Regions from separate parts of the Homo sapiens genome. Here regions 1, 2, 3 and 5 are each linked to region 4. The links are contacts of gene promoters, found by promoter capture Hi-C in blood cells and fetal thymus (Javierre and others, 2016). All regions are on one chromosome and are shown on one strand. The core of a region is centred on a gene start or on the middle of the fragment in contact, and the rest is flanking DNA. Distances in the headings are between cores, read along the strand shown. Region 1 overlaps FBLN5 (fibulin 5). Region 2 overlaps TC2N (tandem C2 domains, nuclear). Region 3 overlaps TRIP11 (thyroid hormone receptor interactor 11). Region 4 holds the start of PPP4R3A (protein phosphatase 4 regulatory subunit 3A). Region 5 overlaps TRIP11 (thyroid hormone receptor interactor 11).

Region 1 (2,700 bases), core at 137-2,636, 410 kb after region 4:
TGCCAATGGCCTGCCAGGTGATCTTGGACAAATCCTGTCATATCACATACCTATCCTCCAGATTTCTCAACCAAACTATAAATGTCCCTCCTTGGTAAAGACTTCCTCAACCCCCTTGGGCAGAATCAGCTGTTCCCACGATTCTCAGTCCATAGCAGCCTTGTGGTGGTTTATGCAGGAGTTGCCAACCCTCCTCCTGGCAAGCCTCCAACCCACATACTCCATTGCCTGTGGCCCCCAATGGTAGCACGAAGTATGGACCAGGTCAGCCCAAGCCTACCCTCAGCACTCCCTTGGCCAAAGCAATATCTTCAGGGGATCTATCATTAGAACTGGTCTTCAACTCCTCTTTGTCAGGGAAGATAGATAACATTTCATGGTTAAAACCCAACTCCAATCTGGCAAAATTTCAACTTTGTTCTTCTGAAGCCAAAGGCTAGTAGGCCTGAGACACAGAGGGTTCTGAAAGTACCACATTGGGAATTCTACGAGGTGTTCTATGCAAGCCAGTCACGACATTTTAATTCTCTTACCCAGATGTCCTGCGGCTTCGTTGGAATTCTGAACCCAGAAAGTAAAATCCGTCACCTGGGATTTTATGAAAATTATCCATGTAATCTTTACCCAAAATTAATAATGACCCTTAGAAAAGGCTCAAGCATGAAAAAGTTAAAGAAAAAGGTAGTAAAGCAGAGAAGAGCTGAGACCAAGTAGCTCCCAGAGTTTCTGCCAATGCTTGTCCTTCTTCCCTCTCAGGTGCAAGACGATTGATTATGAAGCAAGAGGTTCCAGCTGAGCCTTCAGCCAATAGCCAGCTAACAGGTACTTAGCAAGCACCAACTATGGGCCAGGCAGTGGGGATGCAGCAGGTTACAAGGCAACGTTTCTTCCCCTCTTGAAGTTTACAGCTAAGGGATGGGAAAATCAACAAACAAATACATAAAAAGCCACCAATCAGTGGCTCTCAAAGTGCAGCCCCCGGGCCAGCAGCGTCAGCATCACTCAGAAGAAAAGACCCCACCCCAGACCTACTGAGTCAGAAACTCGGCAGCAATCTGTGTTTGAAGGCCTCCGGTGGATTTAATGCACGCTGAAGACTGTGCTGGAAAATGATAAGGCTGTGATTGGGAGTAACTGCGGTGTAATTTCAGACAAGGCAGCCTGAGTAGGACTCTCTAAGGGGTGCCATCTGAACTGAGCTGAAGCCAGAGAGGAGAATGAGCCCGCAATGTGAAGAGCCAGGAGAGAGTTCCAAATAGAAGGAAGAGAAAGTGTGAAGGCCCTGAGGTCCAGAAGGGCCTGGTATATTTGGGGTAGAGAAAGGAGCTGGCATGGTGCCTATGACCAACCAGGGCACGTCGTGGGATGGCCTAAAAGGGCCTAAAGCTGGCGGGCCCACATGCTGGTCAGCCTAAATCACAAGCAAACTCTGGGATGTGGGACAGTCATGGAGCCCTTCCACATATTCTCTAAAATGAAGGGGCAGACAGGCGCGGTGGCCTGTAGTCCCAGCACTTTGGGAGGCCAAGGCGGGCGGATCACCTGAGGTCAGGAATTTGAACACGGCCAACATGGCAAAACCCCATTTCTACTAAAAATACAAAAATTAGCTGGGCCTGGTGGCAGGTGCCTGTAATCCCAGTTACTCAGGAGGCTGAGGCATGAGAATCGCTTGAACCCAGGAGGCGGAAATTGCAGTGAGCCGAGATCGCACCACTGCACTCCAGCCTGGGTGACAGAGCAAGACTCTGTCTCAAAAATAATAATAATAATAAAGTAAATAAATAAATAAATAAATAAATAAATAAATAAATAAATAAAATGAAGGGAAGAACATTCCTAGGCCTGCCTTCCTCCCTGGGCTATTTTGAGAATTCCATGAGCTGGTGGACACGAAAGCATTTGGAAAAGCGAGAAGCAGTGTTCCAGTGGGAATTACTACAATGAAAGGACTCATGGCAGTAACCGCAGGACCCAGCCTCCATGGGGAGAAGTGGAGACCACAACAGACCACAGGCCAGTGCCACCTGGCCCCCAGCCACTGTCTGCTCTCTGGAGAGAAATGAGATTGAGACAATCCTGGAAAAAGGATCTGTTGAGGAGGTCTGAGGTCTGAGGTGGGATTTTCCAGAGACGTCTGATGGTGGGATCGCTTACATCTCTACCTTGTTGGTCAATCTGGGAGGATTCTTGGCTTCCTAAGGAGCTTGTGTTTTGCTCCAGCTGCTTGCAAACTTCCCCCAGGAATTATAAAGGCAGTGTCAGATTTCTCACAGGACCAGGCCAGGCCCTATCATCACAGTGAGAGCCAATTTCATCCATCCACTGATGCCCCTTTTTCAGGGGTCTCGGCAGAGGGCTCATCCCTGTTTTAAGCCTAAAGGAGACTTTGACCAGGACCCTGAGAACATGGAGGTGATGTAATTATGAGGTGACCCAGTAATTAGCCCCTACAGCTTAGACTACATGCAAAATCAATGCCTCAAATGAGAAGATACCATCTCCGAAAGCTGCCTGTCTCCAGAAGCCACCCTTCACCTGGTTGTCATAAGCATCTTTGCATCCTGAGTGGTCAAGGCTGGAGGAAGCCTCACAGATAATGGCCCAGCCCCTCTCATGCAGATGTGAACTGAAGCCCCAGAAAGAGAAGGAACTGGAGCACAACCACCCAATGAGCTTGTGGCAGTGCTAAGACTAGGC
Region 2 (2,753 bases), core at 55-2,554, 270 kb after region 4:
ATTAGGATGGACCATATGGATGATACTCTTATTTTAACTCCAAATAAAACAAATAGTAAAATATTTGAGGGAAGAAAACAGCAAAGTATGTATATTCTGGGTTTCCAATTAAACTTCAACCTTCTGGTGTTTTCAATTATTCCTGCCAAAATGTAGTTTTCTATTTCTGAAGTTTTTTGGAGATAAGTAGCTTACAAAGGGATAATGTGATGTCTTATGGGTAAAAAAATTATAAAACACAGGGCACAAACTTTCTCCAAATATAGAAAATAGTTGAAATGGTTCAATTCATTTTTACCGGGAGAAAATACATAGCAAGAGGTAAACAGTGGAGCCAAGACCTAATCAATAATGCCTAGCACTGAAATAATGGTAAAGTCTTCTAAATGCCAATAGTACTAACAGAGACTTGATATACCAGGTTTTGAATATCTAAGTAAAGCTTAAAATACAAAAGCGAAAACATAATATAGAAAGAACTATCTATGGTTGATATTCTCACAGACTTTATAATTTATTTAGTCATCCTAATAATACTTTGATTTTACTGTCTGTGTCTCTTGTTGCAGTTTTAAAACATTTCCTTTACTTTGGATATCTGATAAAATTCATTACATTTTCTTATCAAATTTTCTATCAGATACATTATATACCATAATTATAGCCCCCATAAATTGACAAATTTGTTGATTTGCCTCTTCTCATTGGTAGCAAATTGAAATCATAAGTCTTCTAAAAGAATGTCAAGTTCTTCACCAAATTAATGTGTGAAGTCTTCAAGATGGATTTAATTTGTGCCACCTGATAACAACCTTTTCTGGATTTATTACTGTCTCTTTCCACTGGTTCACTGCTTCAATGTTATTACTGTCTTCACTTATCCAAATCTGTAAAGGAAAGTATGTACAATCATTTAACTTGACACAATAATAATAACTACATTCAGACAGTTAGTTACTCTTACTGATGGAAGAAATTTGGAAGTTTGCTTTACATATTTTAAATTAAACATCTTTCTTTTTTCCAAAAGTCAGATTGATTTCTCTATTTGACATTTAAATGCTAAAACATTTAACCTGCTTAGTCATTCTGAAGACTAGTTTATAAGGTTCAGTTCAAAAATTCAAGGTGAAATATTACAAAATCATTTCCCCTAGAACAGTTATTAGTATCCTTTCCTATTCAACAAATCTAGGAGCTCAACTTAAAACTGATCCCAACCACTCAAAAATATTTTTGTAAGGATAATTAAACTGAGGCTAATCATGATTCAAATTAGATTGGTAAGGAATGTGCATTTTAAATCACCTTTTACAAGAAATAAAGTGTAATCTTAATTAAAATCTAATAGTCATTCTTGATCAATAGTAATTTCATAGTACCCATCACTTATGTAACTTAAATACTACATGTGAATGTATACATAGTATTATGCAAATTGTACAAAAGACATCACAATAATTATATTATTATGAAGACAAGGAATAAAAAAACTTGAATTTTCATCTTACCTCTAGCACTAACAAATGCTTTTACCTTGAAGTTAACTTCTCTGAGATTCAGTTTCTAAGAGATTGGAGCAGGTCATTGGTTTCAACCTTTTTCCTTTTCTTTCTTGGTCTAAAGAACCTTCCTTTCAAATGAAATCTTACAAATAATCCCAGTATGTAAAACAGACATTAGAGTACTTTCGTTGATACAGGGGTGGAAGACCTTGAGTTCCCCTTTGGCTACCCCATCATAGTTCCTCCTAAGGCTATACCAGATAAGCCATACGGAGCAGATGACCAGCAAGAACCTTTCCAGAATTATTATTCTAACTAGAATCTTAGCCAAGAGAATGGAATCACCACAAATGTTATCATGAAAATCATCTCAAGTAAATTTCCTATTCCATTCATACCGTTAAGTTGAGGCTCGATGATATACGAAAACTTTAACTGAATTGACTTCATAAAGGCTTAATGGTCTTCAAAATTATGCTGGTTATATGAATTCTTAAATTCAAGCTCTTTTCCAAATAATAAATGATAAAACAACATTTTAATTAGTATTTTACGTAAAAATATATATTAAAAAGTAAATCAAGGAGCTGATATCAATGTTTGAAAATTCATATATAATTTGAGGATTTCATGTAGACTGTTAATAATATCTTGTCAAGTTGAAGCTTTTAAACCAATAATATAGATTTTGGAATTTAAATGTGGTTCAAACAATCGTAATTAAGGTAAAAGATAATGGACAGCTACCACTAGTCTATTCAGAGTAAGGAAAGGAAACAAGTTCCTAGAGGACTGGCAAGTTAACAAGTGTTATGTTGTTTTATACAAATTGTACCAAGATTTTAAAATAATCCAGACAGTAGTATTAACTAAATAATATCACAACCACTGTTAAAATGGACATGTTCTAGGAATTCAAAACTAACTCAGGTAAGAGAATATAAAAAGTGCCCATGTTAAACATTAAATCAAAGATTAAACAAAATAAATTTGATACTCGAAGACTTAAGAAATTGATTTAAATACTTAATGTTCCCTCCTTCCACAAGGAACAAGTCAGTAGTACTGAAAAATTGATAATTCTCATCGTTTTTGAAGTAAAAAAGCTCAGAAAAAAACATATTTAAAGATAAACCTGATTGCTCAGAAATTCCAACTATTTGTATTAAAGCAAAAAGTCTGACAAGTTTCGATTTTTGTAGCAATTGAATTTTGATTTATGATGCTGAAGAACTGTACTCTATTTGA
Region 3 (2,700 bases), core at 109-2,608, 460 kb after region 4:
TTATTAAACACATTACAGCTCTTGTTTTATACTTAAATACCAGTTATGTAACTGATGAACTTCATTTACCATAACAACAGCTTTTTAAATGGTGTCATCTATGTTGCAAGGCAAACTCTTTACTTACCCATCTGAATAATGAAAGGCTTAAGGAGTTACGTTCTCCCCAAATAATTACAATAAAGAAAAACAAACCCATATTACAATGATAACAGTTGAATTAATATTTGCCAGAAGAAAAAACAATATATACATACCTTACCTGATCATCTTTTAGGCAGTCAAAGGTTTGAAAACAATCTTGATTAGATTATTTTTCTATGAAGTTGGGCTAATACAATTCCTTTTTATTGGAATAGGTAAATTCCTAATGTCTTAGTGGACAGATTCTGCTTTAATGCCCAAGACCTCTGACAACTTCAATGGTAACAGACAAGCAATCCTTTGAAGGTGCCTACTTCAGCAATGGGAAACTCAAATAAAAAAGACCTCCTAAAGCAAAGAAAGCACTAAGACAAATTTGTCAAATCTGCTTATCATTGAGCACTCTTAGGGTTCCCAAGCCGTACTTTCCTATGAATGACAACTTTCCGAACTCTGGGCAAGCTTCTGGTGTTACCTAGTGAGCTCTGACACACTTCCAAATTCAAGATTAAAGATTAAGCTTGCTTTGTTCATGCAAAGCCTATATCAACCCAAGCCATCACCAGCTTTTGTATCCTATCAATACAAATCAGGCTGGGCACTGGACTTGATACAAGAAAGGGGAAAGGTAGGAAAGAGGAAGAAAAGTGAGAGAAAAGAAGGGGAAAGGAGGGAGAGGGAGGGAGAATAAAGAAGGAGAAGGGAAGAAAAGGGAAAGGAAGGGTGGGAAAAGAAGGGGAAGGGAAGAGAGGAAGGGAAAGAGCCTGCCATAATGAATTTGGGAATCTGTTTCAAGATGCTACAACCTAGTGTAAAAGAAAAACTGTTTTCAGTATAGCCTACACCTCTTAGATAAAGTTATGACTTTTCACAAAATTTAGCAGGCAAAACTACTTACTACCTAAAGGACTGATAAATTTTACTACTTTCCCTTCCTATACAAGTTCAGAAAAATAGAAATATTTGTCTAAACGACAGAAGTTTCAAAAATTTCAGAATATAAATTCTTTATTATTTTATCCAAATTTAAGCATCTGATGTGTGATATGAGTATATAACATATACCTTTACAGTCCAATTAGTAAACATATTAGTCTATTAAAATATGAAGATTTCAGAAGAGCTCTTCCAATAAAGAATTTGTTTATAGTCCAACAGATTATAATTCAATTTCAATTGATAAATTTTCTTGCGTGCCAGTATATATGATATGAACATAAATAAAACCCTTACAATTTAGTGAGACAGAAAAATATGTACACGTTAACCACCACCAACCGTCCGCTCTAGGCAGATCTTTCAACATAAAAGAGTGCTTTCTACATTCTTGGAGTCTCAAGTCAGTTTGTTAAACTGCGCTTATATATATTAACATGCCAATGTTTGGTTACTGAGTGTAGCACTTAAATTTTCAAAGGAGAAAAACCCTTCTCAAACTATAAACTACACATCTAACTCGGATTAGCAAGAACCACCATTAGTGAGAAAGCAAAGCAGGTGGCCAAGAAAGATGTAACCAATTCCCCATCACTTCCAGAGGAATAATTCATAGCTGGTTAGGCAGACAGAGAAGAATTATTCTGATATACAAAGGGAATATATTTCTTACCATTTAAATTAATCTAAGTCAATTAAATATCAGATTGCTACAAGAATATATGAAGCAAAAGCCTGATGCCTTATTGGAAAAGCCTGATGCCTTATTGGAATTCTGGAAGTCCTGATTACACATTTCCAAAAATACTAAAAATTTAGTTAATATCACTGTGAAACATAATCATACATTAAACATTCAATTTTCAAATTATAGAAAAATTAAATCTCTAGTTTTACCTTTAAAACTTTCTGGTGCATTTGTATCTCTTTTTCTTCTTCCTGGTGAATCCAGAGGTTTCATATCATGAACAGAAAGCTTTGGTGGTGGAATGGATGGATGAGATTCTGTTTCTAGAAATTTAACAAAAAGTTCTGAAAAAGACTAAGAAAAAATATTTTGGTTATATTAGGCTAGATAATTAAGTTATATTCACTACAACTAAGGAAATGTACCAGCTTTTCTAATTAAATATTAAAAATTAATCATGCCACTTGAATAATTTTTTTTTACAAATCAGCTTTATGAACAATTGAAAATACTGGCACTTTTTTTTTTTTTTTTTTGAGACGGTGTCTTGCTCTGTCGCCCAGGCTGGAGTGCAATGGCACTATCTCGGCTCACTGCAACCTCCGCCTCCCAGGTTCAAGTGATTCTCCTGCCTCAGCCATCTAAGTAGCTAGGATTACAGGTGCACGCCACCACGCCCGGCTAATTTTTGCATTTTTAGCAGAGACGGGGTTTCACCATGTTGGTTAGGCTGGTCTCAAACTCCTGACCCTGTGATCCGCCCACCTCGGCCTCCCAAAGTGCGGGGATTACAGGCGTGAGCCACCACACCTGGCCTAAAATACTAGCACTTTAGATAGATGATCATCATTACAAAAATTTAACAATTTAATCAATAGTCTGATGGTAACACTCACTTCTAACACCTCATGGTCAGAATTAGCCAACTGATA
Region 4 (2,700 bases), core at 170-2,669:
TGCATTACTATAAAAAAGACAACCAACACTGGTGAACGAAAATCTTCGCAAGGGAAAGCGTTTTCTCTTAGTGTAGAGTTGCCAGATACAGTGTTGCCAAGCTTCAACACGATCAGAAACATGTAGCAAAAAGATGTTTAAAAAGAAAAACAAAAAAAGCACAGCAAAACGTTCTTCAAAGTGTGAAAGGTCCAAGAACTTTCTTAGCTCCAAGCAAAGTTTCATGCCTGCTTTACAGATGGGTGAACTAAGGCAGCAGATCGGATTAATCAGTGTCTTTCTCAAGGTCACTCTAGTGCAAAAGAACAGCACACTCCGGACTCCCTATCTCAGGTCCTCGACCTCTCCACACTCCAGGGCGGCACAGCTCAAACACGCTTGGCTCTCCTCGTACCCAAAATGCCACCAGGCACTCAGAGAAAGGAAACATTTCAAGCGCTCTCCGGGGAGCTCCCGCAAGACTGGGGTACCTGGGGCCCGTCCTCCCCCGAGGTGGCCGCCCTCCCCAGCCGTCCCTCTGTTCTCGTGGAGCGAGCGCCATGCCCCGCAAGAACCAGGGAGGCGGCCCAGGGCCGTGGGGGCTGCGAGGGTCCCGCCGCGCGGGGCTTCACTTACCGTCGCTCTCAGCCCTGACAAGCAGGGACATGCCCTTCAGCCGCTCCACGTAGCCAGACGACACATGCCCGGTGCCCCGGTCGTCCCACTGCCGGTCCTCGTTGAGCGTGTACACCTTCACCCGCCGCCGGGTGTCGGTCATCGTGCCGCCCGGGAACCGGGGCGGGGGCCCCGCCAGTAGACGCCCAGGAAAGGGGCCCTGGAGAGGCGAGGGGCGAGGCGTGAGGGCGCCCGCGAGCGGAGGGCTCCCCGGCCTCACTGCCGCCGCTGGGCGCCGCGGGGCCGCGCCGCCGCCTGCATGGCCCGCTCCAGGGACCGAGCTCTGGGCCGCCGCCTTTCCTCGCCTCCGGCTCCCCGGCGCTATTGTCCAGGCCTGGCGAGCCCGGCGCCCGGCAGCCCCGAGGGGGCCGCGCAGCGCTTCGTAGCCTCCCGCCCCGCAGCGCTAGGAACTCGGGGCTCCCGTCACTGCCCTGCTCCCGCCTCCGCCATGATCTCCGCGAAGCAGCTTCCCGCGCCGCCGCCGCCTCCTCAGGCCGCCGCCGCCGCCGCCATATTTTCCTTCCTTATACCTGGCCCTGCCACCGCGGCCAGTGGCTCCCTTCCGCTCCCCCTGTTTTAAACGTCAGAAGCCGACAGGCGCCTGATCCTGCTGCAACTGCTACCACTGCCCGGGAGACTCTGAGGGCCCCCGGCCGCCCAAGCGACCCGGACTAGTGGAAGTCGGTTTCCCTCCGCCGCCGTCTCTTCCGTCTTCCTCACACAGCCAAAACCGCCGCCATCTTGGTTCGCCCCTCAAAAGCGGCGCGCGGGGCCACCCAGGGAGCAGCTGCAGGGGCGGCTCGTAGCCCCACCATTTAAAGAGACAGCAGCGAGACCGGGAGCCTTACTGCGGCGGAGGCTTCCGACGGAGGCGGGAGGCGGGCGCGGAGTTGCCGAGGTGGCGGGAGCGCAGGGAGCGGAGGAGGCGGGACGCAGATTGCGCCGGTGACAGCCCGAGGCTCCCTCCCGCCTCCTTGCACGCACCGTCGTGCGAGCGCTGGGCGGTGTGTGCGTCCGTCGCGCCCTGTGTTCGTCATCAGCCCCGCTCCAGGATGCACGAGGGGCGTGGATACGTTTGCGGCCTCTGCCCGCGGGCCCCGGCGCTTCGGCCTCGCCTCCGCCCGCCGCCACCTTCCCTTGTTCCTGCCCCGTCCCTGCCTCTGCCCCTGCCCCTGGCCTGCGGACGCCGGGCAGCGTGGGCCTGGGCCCCTACCCGCTTCCGAGAGCGTTTTCCCGGGGCCGCCTTTATGGCTGAGTCGGGCGCTCGGGACCCACCCGGCGCCTTGCGGACTTGAGGGAATGAAATGGAAACGCTTCCGGGGAAGGTCGCGGGTGTGGGCGCCTAGGTCGGCGCAGCCTTGGGAGCCGCCGTGGGTCGCGGACTGGCGTGGCCAGTGTGGAAACTTGGGACTGTTTGCGATTTCTGGGCGTGGGACCGAGTTCCAAGTGACAATTCTAAAACTTCACCTTACAGCCTAGGCAAGCCCCAAGTGCTCCATTCCTTCATCCCTATCAGAACTGTCTGCCAGCCTTTCTTGTCGGAAAAGGAACTTAAGGCGCTCACAAAAACAAATGCGACACTGTGTAATCGGGAGGAGTAATTCTCAGCATTAGGTAGTCCTGTGTTTTGAAGACCTACTTGATGTCAAGTATTGTTGATCTTCACAAAGGAATATCATTCTCGTTCCTATCATGCAGCTCATATGCCACCATTTTGGTGGCTTTTACCATTTGCCAGGCCTTGCCAGGTCGGGCTTGTCCGCTCGGAATATAATGCAGCCACACACATAACTTTAAATTTTGCAGTAGCCACAAAAAGTACGAAGAAACTGGTGAAATTAGTGTTAACGTTTTAGTGCGGTATTTTCAAAAGTTATTTCAATAATCAAATTACTAATGAGATATACGTACAATGTCTTAAAAATGTGATATATTTTGTCCTTCCAGCAAGTCTCTGTTGGGATACTAAATTTTCATCAGAAATATCTACGTTTAGATTTTATTGAAAAAAAATTTTTTTTGAGACAGGGTCTCTCTGTCACCCAT
Region 5 (2,890 bases), core at 43-2,542, 480 kb after region 4:
AGGGAATGAAATTGAAAATTTTAAATAAAATATTTACTATTCAAAAATCCACAAAACTAAATTTAGTGTGAAGGAAATGTAAACTTTCAAATGATTTTTTTAACCCACACCATTTGTACTTATGAAGTTATTAAAGCTTAAATCTACGCTTAGATTTTTTCCAAAATCAGCATTTAGATTTTGTTATTCTTTCTACCAGTTGTTTGGTTTTTATTTCATTAATTACAGCTTTTATTTTTATTAATTCCCTCAATTTCTTCTCATTTATTTTGTTCTTCTTTTAAATGTATATTACACTTTAAATTTTAAAAAATAAAACTAGTTTTAAAAGAAGATTTGGCTGGGTGCTGTGACACATGCCTATAGTCCCAGCTAGTCAAAAGGCTGAGGCAGGAGGATTGCTTGAGTCCAGAAATGCAAGGCTGTAGTGCACTATTATGATCACACTGGTGAAGAGCCACTGCATTCCAGCCTGGGAAACATAGCAAGATTTCATCTCTAATTAAAATAAGAAAAAAATGCCAGGCATAGAGGCTCACGCCTGTAATTCCAACATTTTGTGAGGTCAAGACAGGAGGACTGTTTGAGCCCAGGAGTTTGAGACCAGCCTGGACAACAAAGCAAGACTCTGTCTCTAAGAAAAAAGAGAAGAAGATCTGGACTTCCATTCTAGCAGTTCCACAGACTGTATACTCTGGATCCACTAGAAACCACTAAGAGTATTAGATAAAATACATCTTTTAAATGTATTAATGAGCTGACAAGAAAGTAAGTATAAATGGTCAATAAACATATTAAAAGATGCTTGACCTCACTGGTAATTAGGGAAGTGCAAATTAAAACCACAGGAAGACAGCCCTTCTGCTATGGCTTGAATGTATACCCACAAGTTCATTTGCTGAAAACCTGATTCCCAATGTGGCAGTATTGGGAGGTAGGGCCTGATGGGAGGTGTTTGGTTCATGGGGGCACCACCCTCATGAATAGATTAATGTCCTTATTGTGGGAGTGGGTTCATAATCAAGGAAGTAGGTTCCTTGCAAGAGGAGGAGTTTGGCTCCCTCTTGTTCTCTCACCTTACCCTCTCTTTGCCACAGGATGATGTAGCAAGGAGGTTTACCAGTTGCTGGCACCTTAATCTTGGATTTCCCAGCTTCCAGAACCCATGAGCTACTAAGTTTCTGTTCATTATAAATAAACCAGTCTGTGGTATTCTATTGTATCAGCACAAAATGGACTAAGACACTTCCTACCCATCAGATTGTCAAAAACTTTGAAAGTCTGATAATGTCAAGTGTTGACAAGGATGTAGAACAAGAAGTCATGTGCCTGCTAGTGGGAGTAAATTAGCACAACCACTTCAGAAAACAATTAATCATCTAATAAAGCTGAAGTTGACCATATATGTCCTATAACTCAGCAATTCCAATCAAGATATACATCTAAAAAAACTCTTGTATGTTTAGAAGATATCTGAAATACCCTTTATTAATAAAATGGGTAAATTATATATTAATGCAATGCATACAGAAGTGAAAATAACAAATCGCCTATATACAGTAACACACAGTAATATGACTGAATCTCATAAACACTATGGTAAGTTTTTTAAAAAAGCAAGTCTCAGCCGGGTGCGGTGGCTCACGCCTGTAATCCCAGCACTTTGGGAGGCTGATGTGGATGGATCACCTGAAGTCAGGAGTTCAACAACAGCCTGGCCAACATGGTGAAACCCTGTCTCTACTAAAAATACAAAAATTAGCCAGGCGTGATGGTGTGTGCCTGTAATCTCAGCTACTTGGGAGGCTGAGGCAGGAGAATCACTTGAACCCAGGGCAAAGGTTGTAGTGAGCTGAGATCACGCCCTTGCACTCCAGCCTGAGCAAAGAGCGAAACGCCGTCTCAAAAAAAAAAAAAAAAAAAAAAAAGCAAGTCTCAGAAAAATTACTGAATTTACATATAGTTCAAATTCCATTTACATAGACTTCAAAAATATGCAAAACCAAACAATGGATTGTTTGGAGCGTCAAACCTATGTGATAAGAACCATAAAGAAAACAAGCAGAAAAAGAAAAAAGAAAACCAAACAAAATAAGGAAGTAATAAACATAACATTTTGGAATAGTGGTTGCCTAAGAGGTGGAAGATGAGAATGGGATGTGAAGGGGTGCATAAGGAACTTCAAAGGATGAAGTTTTATTTCTTACACTGGGTGGTGACAGTGTGGGTATTTGCTGCATTGTTAGTCTTATATTTTATACATATTATCTAAATTGTTTTGCAGCCATTTAATACTTAATTAAAATGTTAAAACTTTATTAGGAAGTATATCTTCACTTACTTGGGACGTTAATGTTCCTGAAGAACAGCATAATTACCTCCACTAATGTCAGGTAAATGAATTTTATCATTTTCTACCAGTTATTGACAGTCTATTTATGACATAGAAAAGCTTCTCCTAGGCCGGGCATGGTGGGTAATCCCAGCACTTTGGGAGGCCAAGGCGGGCGGATCACGAGGTCAGGAGATCGAGACTATCCTGGCTAACATGGTGAAACCTCGTCTCTACTAAAAATACAAAAAATTAGCCGGGTGTGGTGGCGGGCACCTGTAGTCCCAGCTACTTGGAAGGCTGAGGCAGGAGAAAGGCGTGAACCCAGGAGGGGGAGTTTGCAGTGAGCCGAGATCGCGCTACTGCACTCCAGCATGGGCAACAGAGCGAGACTCCGTCTCAAAAAAAAAAAAAAAAAAAAAAAAAAAAAAAAGACAAGTTTCTCCTAAATCTAAAAGCACGTTGTTTTGGTGTCCTATCTCTTCATAGGGGTTCATTTTTATATATTCCTTATATATAATTTTTGTCCTATGTGTGAAATATAGATGGAATAGAAAA

Evidence for each region. Contacts are between HindIII fragments. The CHiCAGO score rates a contact against its expected background, and 5 or more counts as called.
Region 1: a fragment that was not itself captured here is called in contact with the fragment with the promoter of PPP4R3A in region 4 in 2 of 17 cell types (megakaryocytes and M1 macrophages); the score reaches 6.2 in megakaryocytes.
Region 2: a contact is called between a fragment that was not itself captured here and the fragment with the promoter of PPP4R3A in region 4, in 1 of 17 cell types (naive CD4 T cells). The highest score is 5.0, in naive CD4 T cells.
Region 3: a contact is called between a fragment that was not itself captured here and the fragment with the promoter of PPP4R3A in region 4, in 11 of 17 cell types (M2 macrophages, erythroblasts, M1 macrophages and 8 more). The highest score is 7.2, in M2 macrophages.
Region 5: a contact is called between a fragment that was not itself captured here and the fragment with the promoter of PPP4R3A in region 4, in 13 of 17 cell types (megakaryocytes, M1 macrophages, M2 macrophages and 10 more). The highest score is 11.6, in megakaryocytes.

The regions. Positions count from the first base shown.
Region 1 is chr14:91,920,538-91,923,237 of GRCh38, forward strand. All of the region lies in intron 4 of FBLN5 (fibulin 5), which reads right to left. Among named protein-coding and RNA genes, the nearest start is that of FBLN5, 26 kb to the right of the region's middle. The HindIII fragment of the contact is 3,943 bases long and covers 1-2,700 here.
Region 2 is chr14:91,782,324-91,785,076 of GRCh38, forward strand. It overlaps TC2N (tandem C2 domains, nuclear), which reads right to left. Exons shown (of 12, transcript NM_001128596.3): 12 at 1-887. The coding sequence ends at 777. Among named protein-coding and RNA genes, the nearest start is that of CATSPERB, 52 kb to the left of the region's middle. The HindIII fragment of the contact is 1,728 bases long and covers 441-2,168 here.
Region 3 is chr14:91,970,740-91,973,439 of GRCh38, forward strand. TRIP11 (thyroid hormone receptor interactor 11) reads right to left here. Exons shown (of 21, transcript NM_004239.4): 20 at 1,978-2,122. Among named protein-coding and RNA genes, the nearest start is that of FBLN5, 24 kb to the left of the region's middle. The HindIII fragment of the contact is 1,392 bases long and covers 663-2,054 here.
Region 4 is chr14:91,508,891-91,511,590 of GRCh38, forward strand. It overlaps PPP4R3A (protein phosphatase 4 regulatory subunit 3A), which reads right to left and starts at 1,420. Exons shown (of 15, transcript NM_001366432.2): 1 at 616-1,420. The coding sequence starts at 757. RefSeq lists enhancers at 20-671, 672-1,322, 1,140-1,419 and silencers at 430-479, 730-789, 800-899, 1,480-1,679. The HindIII fragment of the contact is 5,922 bases long and covers 100-2,700 here.
Region 5 is chr14:91,990,176-91,993,065 of GRCh38, forward strand. All of the region lies in intron 15 of TRIP11 (thyroid hormone receptor interactor 11), which reads right to left. Among named protein-coding and RNA genes, the nearest start is that of FBLN5, 44 kb to the left of the region's middle. The HindIII fragment of the contact is 2,316 bases long and covers 135-2,450 here.